Linked DNA regions of Homo sapiens: region 2 is linked to region 1. Evidence: promoter capture Hi-C in human tissues and cell types (Jung and others, 2019). All regions are on one chromosome and are shown on one strand. Each heading gives the region's core, a stretch centred on a gene start or on the middle of the fragment in contact. The rest is flanking DNA. Distances are from core to core; before and after follow the strand shown. Region 1 holds the start of HOXC4 (homeobox C4). Region 2 overlaps LOC105378250 (a long non-coding RNA gene).

What was found. Contacts are between HindIII fragments. The study calls those that stand out against the background at their distance.
Region 2: a fragment that was not itself captured here is called in contact with the fragment with the promoter of HOXC4 in region 1 in 1 of the 25 tissues and cell types used here (thymus).

What each region holds. Positions count from the first base shown.
Region 1 is chr12:54,052,109-54,057,257 of GRCh38, forward strand. It overlaps HOXC4 (homeobox C4), which reads left to right and starts at 1,727. Exons shown (of 2, transcript NM_153633.3): 1 at 1,727-2,253; 2 at 2,742-3,922. The coding sequence starts at 1,815. The coding sequence ends at 3,097. RefSeq lists enhancers at 1-504, 505-1,486, 782-941 and a cis regulatory region at 1,518-2,018. The HindIII fragment of the contact is 12,403 bases long and covers 1-5,149 here.
Region 2 is chr12:53,811,367-53,816,260 of GRCh38, forward strand. All of the region lies in intron 1 of LOC105378250 (a long non-coding RNA gene), which reads left to right. It also overlaps the pseudogene RN7SKP289. Among named protein-coding and RNA genes, the nearest start is that of CISTR, 62 kb to the left of the region's middle. The HindIII fragment of the contact is 3,858 bases long and covers 1-3,310 here.

The sequences.
Region 1 (5,149 bases), core at 477-2,976:
AAAGGTAGATTGACTAATCACGGCGGCGATCATAATAATAAAATCAGAGGGAAAAAAAATCACATTACGACTTTTCGTGGAAAGGAGGGAGCAGGCAGCCAGCGGCCGCCAGCCCTGCGCCGCCGCCGACACAAAGAGTGCGGGCGATTCCGCGAGACTGATTTATGACGTTTTACAGCCCTATAAAAGCTGTAGCGACGAGGCAAGCGCTCCTACCACCGCTGGCAGATTTAGTCTAATAAATAAAACATAAACAGTTAACTTTATGTGTCACTTTTATTGTTATCAAGTAAAATATAGCTGAGCCCTGGCAAGCTATGATTTTAAACTATAATTGTTATCAAGTACAACAAGGGGACCCGGCTCCCTCCCTGGGCTCTCCCCTCCGCTACCCCCCGCAACTCTGAGTTATGGGCGATCAGTTAATTGGAATCGGTGGCATGACAGGACCACCCCTAGCTGGGGGGGGGGGGTGGTGGTTAGGAAAGCAGCTTTTCCTGGCCCCCTCCCTCCTCTACGGCCCTGTCACCCCCCTCCATCAGAGTATTACTGTGAGTGGGTGGCAGAGAGAGAGCAGGGGGTGTGAATGGGCTGGAGACCCCAAAGGCTGGCCGTGCCTCCCCAACTTGGTGAGCTTAGCCTTCCGTTTTTGGAAAGCAGCCTGGAGCTGGCCTTTAGGAATTCGTGTTTACATGTAAACACACGTGTTACATGGATACAGCTCCTAGCCAGAAGCAAGCAGGCTCTACCCACACAGGCCTCCCTCTTAGCTAGGTCTGCCCTCTGTGGGGACAGAGAAAGAACTCTCAGGATCTTGGCTGGGCACCATCACAGGGCACTGACTCCTGGCAGAAAGCTCTCCTCCTTGCCCCAGCTCCTTGGAGATAATTGTCAGAAAATAGCAGGCCGGGCTGAATGGGGAGTGGAAACAGAAGCCAGCAGTAGAAGAGATCCTCTGCTCTGGGGCTGGGGCAGGGAGGGTCAGTGGGTAGCAGGGGAAGGCGAGACTTCTGAACTCTGCTTTTGCCAACCACTTCCTGTCTCTCTTCAGCGGGGGCTCAACCCCCAGACCTCCAGAAATGACGTCAGAATCATTTGCATCCCGCTGCCTCTACCTGCCTGGTCCAGCTGGGACCCTGCCTCGCCGGCCGCATGGCCAGAGGGTTGGGTGAGTGTGTATGGGGAAGAGGGGCTGGACTCTGGTATCCTTGGATGGGGGGCACTCCAGGCTCTCCAGCCTCCTCGGCTCAGCCTGGGCCCCTCCCCATCCAACATCCACTCCAGTCCTCATTCAACTTCCTCTTCCTGCGAAAGAGGGGCGCTGCCCCGTGACCTACACAGACTGAGACACGATCGCCATGAATGGAGACCTCTGGAAAAGCTCAGGAGCCGAGGCCCACGGGGCCCAGCAGAGGCCTGAGGGGAGACCCTGGGCGGGGGCTGAATCACTGCCTCCCGACAGTCCCCCAATGCCCGGGCTTTGGAGGGGAGCCGGGAGCTTCCCATCTCCTTTTGCAGGGGAGGGTTGTCAGTCTGGCGGGATGTGCACTGGGGGCACTCCAACCTCTGCTAGCTAACCCCACATCACCACCCACCCCCGCCTCCCAGCACCACCACCACCACACACACAAAAAAATTGGATACATTTTGAATAAAGCGATTCGGTTCCTTATCCGGGGACTGGGTTGCTCCGTGTGATTGGCCGGAGGAGTCACATGGTGAAAGTAACTTTACAGGGTCGCTAGCTAGTAGGAGGGCTTTATGGAGCAGAAAAACGACAAAGCGAGAAAAATTATTTTCCACTCCAGAAATTAATGATCATGAGCTCGTATTTGATGGACTCTAACTACATCGATCCGAAATTTCCTCCATGCGAAGAATATTCGCAAAATAGCTACATCCCTGAACACAGTCCGGAATATTACGGCCGGACCAGGGAATCGGGATTCCAGCATCACCACCAGGAGCTGTACCCACCACCGCCTCCGCGCCCTAGCTACCCTGAGCGCCAGTATAGCTGCACCAGTCTCCAGGGGCCCGGCAATTCGCGAGGCCACGGGCCGGCCCAGGCGGGCCACCACCACCCCGAGAAATCACAGTCGCTCTGCGAGCCGGCGCCTCTCTCAGGCGCCTCCGCCTCCCCGTCCCCAGCCCCGCCAGCCTGCAGCCAGCCAGCCCCCGACCATCCCTCCAGCGCCGCCAGCAAGCAACCCATAGTCTACCCATGGATGAAAAAAATTCACGTTAGCACGGGTAGGCAACTTTGCTTTTTGCTCCCCCCCTCCCTCCCTTCTTCCCTAGCGCTCCCCACCCTCCTCGGCCCCCTCTGGCCCCCGTCCTCCTTTCTCTCCTTCCCCCTCTCTCTCCAGGAGCGACTCTGGGTTAGCACAATTGAACTGGATTTACGAGCGAGAATGGGTAATTACATCCCCCATAAATTTTATGGCTTAGCTACTCTGGGCAGTCCGAGCCATGTGCTACGATCTGTTATGTATGTGTGAAAACTATGCTCGCTTTCTAAGGGCGCATAAATAATTCAGTGTCGTTACAATGAGGATTCCCCTCTTATTACACTACAAAGTCTTCAGCTTCCTTCAACTTCTTTATAACCCATTTAAGCTTGATGACTTTATTTCCACCACTCCCTCCTCCTGTTTCTCAGAGCTGAGGATGGGGTGAGGGTGGGGGGCGGGGAGCCTGCTGCCTCTGAACCCCACTATTTGCTTTTCCCCTCCCCCCAGTGAACCCCAATTATAACGGAGGGGAACCCAAGCGCTCGAGGACAGCCTATACCCGGCAGCAAGTCCTGGAATTAGAGAAAGAGTTTCATTACAACCGCTACCTGACCCGAAGGAGAAGGATCGAGATCGCCCACTCGCTGTGCCTCTCTGAGAGGCAGATCAAAATCTGGTTCCAAAACCGTCGCATGAAATGGAAGAAGGACCACCGACTCCCCAACACCAAAGTCAGGTCAGCACCCCCGGCCGGCGCTGCGCCCAGCACCCTTTCGGCAGCTACCCCGGGTACTTCTGAAGACCACTCCCAGAGCGCCACGCCGCCGGAGCAGCAACGGGCAGAGGACATTACCAGGTTATAAAACATAACTCACACCCCTGCCCCCACCCCATGCCCCCACCCTCCCCTCACACACAAATTGACTCTTATTTATAGAATTTAATATATATATATATATATATATATATAGGTTCTTTTCTCTCTTCCTCTCACCTTGTCCCTTGTCAGTTCCAAACAGACAAAACAGATAAACAAACAAGCCCCCTGCCCTCCTCTCCCTCCCACTGTTAAGGACCCTTTTAAGCATGTGATGTTGTCTTAGCATGGTACCTGCTGGGTGTTTTTTTTTAAAAGGCCATTTTGGGGGGTTATTTATTTTTTAAGAAAAAAAGCTGCAAAAATTATATATTGCAAGGTGTGATGGTCTGGCTTGGGTGAATTTCAGGGGAAATGAGGAAAAGAAAAAAGGAAAGAAATTTTAAAGCCAATTCTCATCCTTCTCCTCCTCCTCCTTCCCCCCCTCTTTCCTTAGGCCTTTTGCATTGAAAATGCACCAGGGGAGGTTAGTGAGGGGGAAGTCATTTTAAGGAGAACAAAGCTATGAAGTTCTTTTGTATTATTGTTGGGGGGGGGTGTGGGAGGAGAGGGGGCGAAGACAGCAGACAAAGCTAAATGCATCTGGAGAGCCTCTCAGAGCTGTTCAGTTTGAGGAGCCAAAAGAAAATCAAAATGAACTTTCAGTTCAGAGAGGCAGTCTATAGGTAGAATCTCTCCCCACCCCTATCGTGGTTATTGTGTTTTTGGACTGAATTTACTTGATTATTGTAAAACTTGCAATAAAGAATTTTAGTGTCGATGTGAAATGCCCCGTGATCAATAATAAACCAGTGGATGTGAATTAGTTTTACGTCAATGTCTGATGGTTTCTTTTTATTCCCCTCCCTCTCTGGCCTGGTAACATCCCATCTTCTCTATAGTTGCCTAAGTTTACTTTAAACAAACACACAAATCTTAGCTCTCCATTAGTCTTCCAATGTCCTTAGAAGAACAAGCAAGGGGGTTGGGGTATGGGATCTTCAGAAGAGGGGATGTGGAAGATTAAGGCTGATTTCTCCAGTCCCCTTCCTTCCCCCTGAGTCTGCAGAGAGACCAGACTCCTCTGGGGGCACTTCAGTGGAGCTGAGGGTGGGGAGTGTCTCACTTTTCTATAGTTAGGTACAGTTTCTTCTTTTTGTCTTTTCTCTCTCTTCCCTTCTCCCTCCTCTGTGCTGAGTAGGCCTGCCTACTTTGTAGACAAGGGGGCAAGTTTAGGGAGTGGGAAGGAGAATAGTTTTCTTTCATCTTTTAGGGCTCTTTTGGGATGAGGGATTAAGGAAGACATCCCCTCAACATTTGAGTTCTTAAAAGAAGGAAGGTTTTGAGCTGGTGACTCTGAAGCAGCAAAGTCACCTGTCAGGATGCCTTCTCTGTTTGTTTAGGCTTGGAAAAAAGACTGGCCAGAGGCCTGGGAGGTACCCTTGTTATGGATAGGCCTCAAAGGCTGATGCCTGGAGATAATAAAAGACTTTTACCTTTTTATTCTCTAACTTTTATTATGGACCTGCCAGGTGTTGCGAAGAGACTTAGGGAGAGTCAAGGACCACCCTCTCTTCCTATAACCTCCCAGGTCCTGGCAGCGTATGGGGATAGCCTGAACAAGTTTCTCTGGCTGTAAAGAAATAAATTAATTAAATAAATTTGTTTCCTTGGGGCTAAAAAAGAAACAAAAAATCTTGCCTGGATTACCTGAATACATTCAAGCCAAAGGCTCCCAAATAATTCTGGTCCTGAGATCCAGGCCCTAGCAAGGCCTGCTTAATTTTTTGCTTGTTTGTTAGGAGAAGGTGGGAGGAGGGCTGTTGGTGACCTTCTTCTCGGACGATTTATCCATATTTCAGGAAGAAAGGCAATTAGAAGTAGAAGACAGAGGGAGAAGAGATCTAGGGTATGCAGGGAAGCCAGGGATACCCCTTCCCCCTATCCCCAAATTCTGGAGTGAAAGGCAACAGCAGGACTAAGTTGTACAAATCACATTGGTGTGCTTTGAATTTATTTCCTTTTGAACCACTTGCTGGTTGTTACTTGGTGTGTGTGT
Region 2 (4,894 bases), core at 132-2,631, 240 kb before region 1:
GGTTCCCTCAACCCTTTTCCTCCCTGTTTATGCCACTGCCAAACCACTTATACAGATCTGCCTCTACACTGAAGCTTGAGCGGCCCTGCCCCCTTCTCTTCTACACTCTGCATCCCACACCATCTTAGTTACCTAAGTCCATAGGGATTTTTCATTTCAAAAAAACTGTTTGGAGTGCAAAAGCATCATGGTGTCAGCCAGTCAGTGCAATAACCAGGTGCAGTTTTACAGTCGCTCCCCCGACTGTAACTGCACTTTCATATATCTCTGGCTGCGACAGCCAATTTTCTTTCAAAGATTGTTTTTTCTGGAGCCTGTGATTTCTACTCTCGCCTCCAACCTCTGGGATATTAAAACGGGGTCAGTGGCTCTTGGCAGGCTGACCAATTTGTGGTCACTCCCTAGCTCCTCTATTCACTCTCCCTGTTGCTATCTCCAATCTTGTCATCCCTCTGCCTCTGCACGCCATCTAGTCACGCTAGAGGAAAATGGCTCTGGTGGTTAAAGCTCTCCAGAGAGATGCCTCAGCCTTCTGGGAGGTTACAGTCCTTCGCACTGAGAGGTTTTGTCATGTGTCTAACCTTAAGAGTTGAGGTTAAGTGCGGTGGGGAAGGGGATCCAGGAGCAGATTCACCTTCTAAGCCTTTCCCTATCCTTCTCCTCAACCCTGCCCTGCCCCATTGTGTTCTGGGATGGAGCTGTCAGTTCCTTTCCATGAGAATACTGTAGCTTTTCTTTCTTTCTTTCTTTCTTTCTTTCTTTCTTTCTTTCTTTCTTTCTTTCTTTCTTTCTTGCTTGCTTTCTTGCTTTCTTTCTTGCTTTCTTTCTCTCTCTTTCTCCCTTTCTTTCCTTCCTTCTTTCCTCTTTCTTTCTCTCTCTCTTTCTCTTTCTCTCTTTTCTTCTTTCTCTCTTTTCTTTCTTTCTTTCTTTCTTTCTTTCCTTCCTTCCTTTCTTTCTTCTTTCTTTCCTTCTTTCTTTCTCTCTCTTTCTTTCTTCCTTCCTTCCTTTCTTCCTTTCTTTCTTGCTTTCCTTCTTTCTTTCTTTCCTTCTTTCCTTCTTTCTTCCTTCCTTCCTTCCTTCCTTCCTTCCTTCCTTCCTTCCTTCCTTTCTTCTTTCTTTCTTTCTTTCTTTCTTTCTTTCTTTCTTTCTTTCTTTCTTTCCTTCTTTCTTTCTTTCTTTCTTTCCTTCTTTCTTTCCTTCCTTCCTTCTTTGACAGAGTCTGGCTCTGTCACCCAGCCTGGAGTGCATGGCAGGATAATAGCTCGGTGCAGCCTCAAACTCCTGGGTTCATGCCATCCTCCTGCCTCAGCCTCCCAAGTAGCTCGGACTGCAAGCATGTACCATTGTGCTGGGCTTATTATTATTATTATTGTTTTTAGGGATGGGGTCTTGCTATGTTGCTCCGGCTGGTCTTGAATTCCTAGCCTCCAGCAATCCTCCTGCCTCAGAGTCCCAAAGTGTTGGGATTACAGGCATGAGACAGTGTACCTGCCTCAGTAGCTTATTTTCTAAGGGGAACATTTTGAAGAACTGGGGGAATAGAATTAGGGTTTAACATTAGGGAGTTTTCTTTGCTAGAAACTGAGAGTGGGGTGAGGTGGGAAAGCTCGTACAATCTCTTTTTCTGGGAAATTGGGAGAATAGGAGGAATTCCCATATAGGTGAAGGGCTGGGTTAGTGGACATTTAGCACATGGGGAAGGGATATGGAAATGTTTGGATCCCTACCTCCCTGATGAGAGATTGTGATTCTGCTCTTGCTGATAAAAGCAATCTCTTCCCACCAAAAGCAGTCTCTTCCATTGTTTGCCGGTATGGTATTTGCTGGCCAGCAAAATGCCTTCTTTCTGTCACCCAGGTAGGGTTTTTTTTTTTTTTTTCTTGGAAGAAAGACTTGTATCTGCCTTTGGGGTTGTCCATTTGGGGATTTTTCTATTTCCTTCCTTGGCCCATGGCCTGATGCAAAATACTTCCTGTGGCCTAACTCTTGTTCCTCTTGCTTTACTAACAGGTTGAACCCTCTTGAAAAACAACATGATACAGCACACTCCCCCTCCTCACTCATATCATCCCTTGTTTTTATTAAATAAAAGTAAGTGGAGCTATAAGATGTGACTGGCCTGGATCCCAGCTTCATAAAACAAAACTAACACCCTCTTTATCAAGGGGCTGAGGCATCCGGAGAAGATTTCTTAGGCCATTTTGCTGTCACGTAAATGGGAATCAATATTCAATAAGCCCTTGATGCACTACGCTAGCAGTTCACTTAATACCGGCTTCCAGTACAGTAAGTGGCGTTGATATAGGGAGGGCTTGTTTGTAAAATAACACTGCAGCCCTCACCTCCTGGATATTGGATCTGGCTTCTCCTAAGCAAGAAGATTCAAAACTCTGAGGAAGCAGGAGAGTCTTTTTGCCAATCCCATTGCCTCAGGACAGACTCACCTATAATCTAGCTTGCAAAAGAGAACAGATTCTGTGCTTGTATTAAAACCAATCAGTCTAAGAGATCCTGGAGGTTAATAGGCCCACATTCCTATCAGGAAGATTTCCACTGTGTCTGCCCTGATTGCCTCCTTCTTCAATAAATTAGTCAAATTGAAAACAGATTTAAGGATAGAATTGATTCCACTGCTACTAACGTTATGAGGATAGACCCTTCTGTGTCCTGAAAGCCTGCAGTGGCTGGAAATAATACCTCCTTTCTCCCAGCCCCTGTGTTTGCTATCGGGAAGGACTGCTGGCTGCCTTGGCCCCTGGTGGATGGTGGCAGGTCCAGGTTTCTCCGTGCATAGTCACTGTGAGAATCTGGTAGGAAATGGGCTGTTTCAAAATGGTCAATTATTTCTTTTTCCATTCTGTGACATCTTTGCTGGGGATTTGTAACCTTAGGCTTGCTTCTCCTCCACAGCTCTAAACAAGCATGTGTTAAGGAAAAGCAATCTGATGTCTGCCTAAATATAACAGGTGAATATTGTACCAAAGCTTCATATAATACGTTTCAGAACCAAGTAGATTTTAGCCATTCTTTTTCAGTGCCAGTGTTCACAGAGTTTAGGAATTAACAATTTGGGGTTGAAGTAGGAACATATAGAGAGATTTATCCTGCATTATGGTTGTGACGATTTCTTATCCCATTTTAGGGGGTTCGATGTTTGGGAGGAAGCTGAAGGTAGAGGACTTTTCAGCACTACTGTTTGGGGATATGCTGATGGAGGTCAGTCCCACTCTTTCTAGTGACCCTGTAACTGTCCCTCCAGGAGAGGTGTCCTTTCTTAAGTCTCCTAGAGTCACTTTATTTTTATTAAATTAAATTAATTAATTAATTTTTGAGATGGAGTCTTGCTCTGTCACCCAGGCTGGAGTGCAGTGGCATGATCTTGGCTCACTGCAACCTCCACCTCCAGGGTTCAAGTGATCCTCCTGCCTCAGCCTCACGAGTAGGTGGGATTACAGGTGTGTACCACCACGGCTGCCTAAGTTTTTATATTTTTAATAGAGTCGGGGTTTCACCATGTTGGCCAGGCTGGTCTCTAACTCTCAACCTCAGGTGATCCACCCACTTTGGCCTCCCAAAGTGCTGGGATTACAGGCATGAGCCACTGCACCTGGCCTCCTAGAGCCACTTTAGATCAAAGCTTTCAGTCCATCCTGTCACAGATAGGTTTAGTGAACCTAAAGCAGGAGTCTAGTATTTGGCCTCTCTGCTTGGGCATGGATTACAGGGGAGATCAGCCTGCAGTATTTGCCCATGTTAAGTTGTTTTTGTAGGGTGAACCCTCCAAAGATATTGAGTAATGGGTACATATTTTGTGTTCTGTTTTGTTAGAGACAGGATCTTGCTCTGTTGCCCAGGCTGGGGTTCAGTGGCACGATCTCTGCTCACTGTAGCCTCTGCTTCCTGGGCTCAAGTGACCCTCCCACTTCAGCCTCCTGAATAGCTGGGACTACAGGCATGCACCACCATGCCCAGCTAATTTTTGTATTTTTTGTAGAGAGTGTTTCGCCATGTTGGCCAGGCTTGCTAATTTTTTTGTATTTTTAGTAGAGATGGGGTTTTGTCATGTTGCCCAAGCTGGTCTCGAACTCTTGGCCTCAAGCAATCCTTCTGCTCGGCCTTCTGAAGTGCTGGGATTATAGGCATGAGCCACCTAGCCCAGCCTTAGGATGTTTCTTGTCTTCAAAATTCCTCACATGGCCCAGCCTGGTAGCCTTGAGAAGAGTACAGCAAGGGTACTGGAGAGGGCTGAGTTCAGAGGGGGCTGAGGGGCTTGATAACCTATCTTAGAATTCCTGGGTTCCCAAATGAAGGAGAATATTATTAGTTGCTAGTCTCATCTTCCAAATAAGAGAAAAAGAGATAAGTTAAAGCTGGAGGTACTGAAATTAAGCTTAACAAAGGACTTCTACTTCTATTTATTTATTTATTTATTTATTTGAGACAAGGTCTTGCTCTGTCACCCAGGCTGGGGTGCAGTGGTATGATCATGGCTCACTGAAGCCTCTACCTCCCAGGCTCAAGCAATTCTCCTACCTTAGCCTCCCAAGTAGCTGGGACTACAGGTGCATGCCACCACACTCGGCTAAATTTTTAATTTTTTTATAGAGACAGGGTCTCACTATATTGCCCAGGCTGGTCTCAAACTGCCGGGCTCAAGCAGTCCTCCTGCCTTGGCCTCCCAAAGTGCTTGGATTACAGATATGAGCCACTGTGCATGACTAGCAAAGGACTTCTTGATAGTTGGCACACAACCGACTCATTTAGTTTGGAGTCCATTCTGTCTTCCTCCTGGGCCTTGTTTTCTGCTGCTCCATGTTGGGGCGAGGGCTAAGTGTGGTTCTGACATCTCTCACTTCATCCATTTCCAGGCTGACCTGGCTGACTAGATGGGAGT